Regions from separate parts of the Homo sapiens genome. Here region 1 is linked to region 2. The links are contacts of gene promoters, found by promoter capture Hi-C in blood cells and fetal thymus (Javierre and others, 2016). All regions are on one chromosome and are shown on one strand. The core of a region is centred on a gene start or on the middle of the fragment in contact, and the rest is flanking DNA. Distances in the headings are between cores, read along the strand shown.

What was found. Contacts are between HindIII fragments. The CHiCAGO score rates a contact against its expected background, and 5 or more counts as called.
Region 1: a fragment that was not itself captured here is called in contact with the fragment with the promoter of KLHL32 in region 2 in 1 of 17 cell types (total B cells); the score reaches 5.2 in total B cells.

Annotation. Positions count from the first base shown.
Region 1 is chr6:151,385,774-151,388,895 of GRCh38, forward strand. All of the region lies in intron 1 of ZBTB2 (zinc finger and BTB domain containing 2), which reads right to left. LOC124901232 (translation initiation factor IF-2-like) reads left to right here and starts at 2,547. Exons shown (of 3, transcript XM_047419613.1): 1 at 2,547-2,564. The coding sequence starts at 2,547. The HindIII fragment of the contact is 3,678 bases long and covers 1-3,103 here.
Region 2 is chr6:96,923,249-96,926,141 of GRCh38, forward strand. KLHL32 (kelch like family member 32) reads left to right here and starts at 1,480. Exons shown (of 11, transcript NM_052904.4): 1 at 1,480-1,778. RefSeq lists a silencer at 1,207-1,516. The HindIII fragment of the contact is 7,655 bases long and covers 1-2,893 here.

The sequences.
Region 1 (3,122 bases), core at 15-2,514, about 54 Mb after region 2:
CAATTACTATTATTAATAATTAATATTGGAGGGCCCATGAAGTAAACCTGAAGGCTGGTCATTTGAATTTTAATACATTTTAAAACTGTATTTTGAAGGTAGAAAATGCATCTTATTTAGTTGTGATAATGGAGTGGCATTTTTTTCTTAACATTTCCTTAGTCAACCTTCTTCCATAGTAATTAGAAAAGAGAGAGGCATAAACAGCACTTATTTTCATATTAAAAAGCACTGCATTTGTAAAATACTCCTGTTTTCAATTATATTTTCCCTATGTTTACACTTAAATTAGTTTTTAGTTTCCAAATGTAAGTTGGGGTCATAAGGAGGCAATTCAGGGACATCTTAGGTGTCAAACAGAAGTAGATCAGAGATTTATGGCTAATAACGAGTTCATATTAAAGTAATAATTCTAAAGGCATTATGCTACAATCAACCTGAAGGAAACTTACAGATGATTACACACGGCAAAATTAAAAAATTAATCTGGGCTTGGGACAGTGGCTCACCCCTGTAATCTCAGCACTTTGGGAGGCCAAGGCGGGCAGATCACTTGAGCCCCGGAGACCAGCCTGCGCAACATGACGAGACCCTGTCTCTATAAAAAGAAAATTAGCTGAATGTGGTGGCATGTGCCCATGGTCCCAGCTACCAGAAGGCTGAGGTGGGAGGATTGCTTGAGCCAGGGAGGCTGAGGCTGCTGTGAGCCATGGTCATGCCACTGCACTCTAGCCTGCATGAAAGAGTGAGACCCTGTCTCAAAACAACAACAACAAAAAACTGATCTGCTTCTAATAATCCACCAGAGTGGAGATTGCCTTTGTTTTTTATATACCATAAAATGATTAGTAAAATTAATCTGAAGAAAATATAATCACCTAAATGTGTAGTTCAGGGTATATAACACAGGTGAGTTTCAAATGTGTTTAACTCAAAGTCTTAATAATATGTTTCAATATTTTAGAGCAGAGCTTCTGAAACTTTTTGGTGTTGGGATCCCTTAATGGTCTTAAAAATTATTAAGAACATCAATTATATGTTTATATGGATTTTAACTACTGATAATTACCAAAATGGAGAAATTTTAGAAATATTTAATTCAATTAAAAACAATAAGGCCATTACATGTTAAAGTACAGAACATTTTTATGAAAAAATAATTGTATTTTCTAAAATAACAAAGTGGTGTCTTTTTATATTTTTGCAATTCTCTTTAACAGAAGACAACTGGATTTTGCATTTACTCCTCAATTAACTCTGTTTTGGTTGAGTAGTGAAGAAAATCCAGCCTCACCCACCTATGTAGTTGGAAAAAGGAGATATATTTGAATAGCCTTTTCAGGTAATTGTGGACAGTCCTCTTTTATATTATACCAACACTTGACAAGTCTACTTTCTTAAAAGTTGGTTGTGTAATATAAAACTACATAACTGAATTAACTTTTCCTACTCTATTATAGTAATATTCATTGGTCTATCCACTTTCAACGGATCATTTACCCACTCATGATTTTTAACATCATCTGTTGGTCATTTGGAAAATATCGGCTCACTGAATTAAGCAGATCTTCTCAGTGTCAACACTGAGAAGACATTTTGTCAACACAGCGGAAAAGGCCATAACAACTTAGTATTACTGTGACAACAGTTTTGACTTCATTGAATCCTGAAAGGATCCTGGGGCTTCAAAAGGATCTGCAGACCACACTTAGACAAGCGCCGTTCAGAATCACTTTGGGGACTCAGAGAACCTAAATGACTCTCCCGGTGCAGGAGAACATGCGCACTTCATTCCAGAGGATTCTGACGCTTACCCTGCTTGGTGCAGAACTTAGCGAGTGCCCCCTGTTTAAGAGAACAGTACACTAAAATCTCTAACAAAAGTAAAAAAGTAGTTTCCCTAAGTACTTAGCCAGATACATAAAAGTATTTTTCAAATTCCTATCTTTGAATACTGAACTTTCTTAAAGTGACACTCAAAGGCATGTGATGCATACCTCAAGCATGTGAACTGGGGGTTATGAGTTTGAGCATAAATATGAGCCTCCAAGTTGGCTTCTAAAATGGATCTACATATGTTGGGCTGCCAACTCCTTGTAAGGGTTCTGTGGCTACTGATTCCATATCTTAATGGCTCTATCGGCATTGTAAAAATACTGAATCTTATTTACTATCAATTCGAAGTAATATTTTAATTATTTAATAGTTTAATTTGCTAGCACAAATTATAACCTACTTGAGCATAAAGAACGTTTTAGAAATATTCTTAGTCTAATGCTTAGAATGTTTACATTTTTTTTTTTTCTTCAGGGAAATAAAAATGTTCAGTTCCCTTTTAGGTTTTCAGTCATGTTTGGAGAGCCAAAGAGCATAAGAAAATAGGAAAAGTGATGATAAATGACCTTTCCCAGGTGCATTTGGTATTTTATGGTAAAAAAATTACCAGCAAACCAGTTCTTTCAATCTTCCTCTCCTGTGCAGGCTGGTGCCACGGGACTTGCCCAGCTTTTCCAAGTTCCTACAGGGAAAGGTGAGTGGGGCTAGGAATGAAGCACCAAGAAACAGTAAGAGCTGGAAGGGCAGTTCCCACCTCTAAAGCTGCTGATCCCAGGCCGATGCTACAGATGAGCTTTAGATATTTCCTTCTCTATTTTGTAAGTCTCAAATTGGGGAAAGCACATCCACTTACTCATGGGCATGCTGTGGGTACTTGAAATCACAGGATTGCAAAGTATATCTATGGGGTTGGGGTGAATACATTTTCTTTTCTTTTTTAATAGAGATGTGGGATCTATGTTACCCAGGTTGGTTTTGAACTCTTGGCTTCAAGCAATCCTCCAGCCTTGGCCTCCCAAAGTGCTGGGATTATAGGCGTGAGCCACTTTCCCTGGCCATGAACACATTTTTCTATTATTTTATATTATCTTATAAAAGTGCAGATTTTGGAGGTTACTGAAAAGTTGATATTAAAGTTTAAGATATAAAAGCAGGTGTCACCGTGGCAGCTTTTATTCTATAACTTAAAACATGATTAGCGTTTATTCTCTGCTGCTAGTGGTAGAGATTGCTCAGCATCAACGTATTTACATCCCCTTTGAAGAGAAGCTTTAAAACTGGCAAGT
Region 2 (2,893 bases), core at 230-2,729:
AAACACCTTGGGGATCTTAAAGGACTGTTTTATTTATTGATACCAGTCACTGTCAATATTTTTGGTTCAAAGACGCTTTCATATTCGATTTTCTGATAGAAGACAACGCAATGAAAACTATCAAGTTGCTTATGAAAAATTCTTAGGATGACACTGCACCTAATGTTTGTAGTCAGTTGTTTGTCATTCTTTCCCTTGTCCTATGCTGTGTCCAGGACTGCTAGATAAGTAGGTACCCAGCATCCTAGCGTCCAGATATCAAAACCATGAAAATGAAGCACTACAAGCCAGACAGATAACCTCCAGAGGGAGCAAACGAATAAACCCCCAAATCCTGTGGATCTAGAAGTAGAAAATAATCGCTGAACCACTGATTTGAGACCAATGAGAACATTAAGGACACCTCAAAATAGATCAGGGCACTGTTCCTAGCCCAACTCTGTGGCAGAACATAAACCTGCAAGAAATAGGATTAACATACTATCTTTGCAGTAAGTTAAATCCTGAACTTCTACAAAATACAGTTTACTCCAATTTAGTTACACTCTTCCTGCTTCTGGTGTCTTACCTCCACGTTGGACTAAGGTTTTCAATTCGGTGGTGGAATACTTACCTATTAAAATTACCCACTTTGCTTTAGTGTGAGTTTCTCAGCATGTTTTACACAGGAGTGACCTGAATGACTCGGAAGTGGCACTTGAGTGTGCCAGGCCCTGGAATTTAATGGTATGGTTCTGTGGTTGTTGTCTGTTTGCGGTTTTATTGCTGAATTAGTAGTAACCACAGTAATCACACCCTTTCTCATTTCTCAGGCTTGGGGATTTCGTCCACCTCTGGCGGGTTGGTTCCCCTGACGTTTCTTAAAGTTACTGTGAATTTGTTCTGGTCAGTACCATAGAGTGTATTATCCTAAGGAGGGCCACTGTAGGGCCGCTAGGACTAGAGGCAACTTGAACTTCACAAGTTAGCAGAGCAAGGACTCCCTGGAACACCGAGTTAGGGCCACGGGGTCTGTTTGCTCAGATTGCCCGCCAGCCCTGGGAAAGGAGTCTGGGGGCGAGCAGGCTGGGTTCCCGGGTCTCAGTCGCCGCAGTGGTGGCTACAGACTGCGCATGTGACCCAGGGGCCGGCGACGCAGGTGCCGGAGAGCGAGGAGGAGGGCGGCGTGGAGGAGGGTACTTCCGGGACCGGCGGGCGCGCGCTGGCAGCTCGCCGACGGCGGGGGCGGGGGCGGGGGGCGGCAGGGGAGCGAGCGCGCTGGCGGCGGGCGGTGGCGTTGCGCGCGGGGTGGCGAAAGGATGTGCGCGGGATCGCGGGGGAGGGGGAGGGAGCGCGCGGGCTAGCTGGAGGCGGGAGGGGGCGGAGCCCTGTGGCGTCTGAACCCGCCCCGGGGGTGCCAAGGTGCGTCTCCAGTCTGACGCGACCGCCTGGGGCGGAGTCAGCGGGACGTGCCACCTGCAGTGCTGGCTAGGGCTTTTTATTTACTAGGGAGCAGTTTCCCCGCGCGACAGTTCGGGAGCGCGCAGGCAGTCGCGCGCACACACGCACGCAGGCACACACACACACACACACACACACACACACACACTTTCGCACACACAAACACGCTAGGACGCTCGTCTTCGCTACTGCATCCCCGAACCAGCAGAGCGAAGCTACTGCGGGTTCTGTTAACCTCAGCATCGTGGGGCGAAGCAGAGCCATTGTGCATCAAGGAGAGGCCGGTGCCTGCGCTGCCGTCTCTGGCACCTAACCCAGCAGACCGCTCACCCCATCGGGTAAGCCAGTCTCTCTCCTTGTAACCTGTTCTGCAGACCTGAGGAAGAGGGTGGGAGGCTGCTGGTGCGCCAAGTGGGGGCAGACCCGGAGTTGACATTTCAGGGGCTTGCAGCCCATGCAGCCTCTGCCCGTGTCGTCTAACGGGAGCAGCCACTACTCAGGTTACTTATGCTGCCAGCCCTGGAGTCGCTCCCCCTTTCTTCCCTCCCCCTGAGCCCAATATGTACTGTGCTCCTTGGTTGCCAAGGAGACTTGCTTAAACATCAGCCGTGGGACATCTATTGAAAGAACTGGTTTCTTAAATGATGCCGTTATTTATTTTGATATTTAAAATAAAATATACACTGAGGACCTTTCGTAATTTGGCATTTGTTAATCTGTATTCAGGTGGCGGTTTCATTCAACTTCAAGAAAAGCCGTAATTGCACTATATGGTATGCTTTAAAAAGGATTCGTCAGATGAATTTTTCAACGGATTGTGTCTTGAATCATAATTTACTCCCATTTTGGTGATCTTATAAAGAAAGATGACTGCAGTTTAGATCCCTTCTTCCCCTCTATTTCCAGTTTTATTTTGCAGTTCACTTAGTCGTGATTATTTTAAATTAAAAGCAGATGATTTAATTGTGTTTCCCCACACAAGAATGAGCTTCTATTGTAAATTGACCAGAACAGGAATACGTTTGTGAATTCGTAACGTAAGAAGGTAGCATTCATGACATACATCTTTGCTAGCATTTTTATATCCCCTGCATCAGTATTGAAGCGCAGTTTTTTGCACCTCTGCTCATTTCTGAGAAGATTCTGTTTTTTAAAAAATCTCTTATTGATTATTTTTAGATCTATCTCTATACACAGATAGAGATAGATATAAAATGTGTGCCATGGCTTACTAGAGCTTATATGAAAGTGCAGTGGTTTTTGCTTTTTGTTTTTTTTCTGATGGGACTGGGTCCTCTACTGGAACACTGATAGGCCAATGGAACAGGTCAGCCTAATACCTGGGCTGTCAGTTTTGTTTTATTTTGAGGTCTCGGGTGTCTATTGGGTGAACTTGTAACACAGTACTTGAAGGCATCAGCAATCCAGTAATTACACTTTGCACGAATTTCAT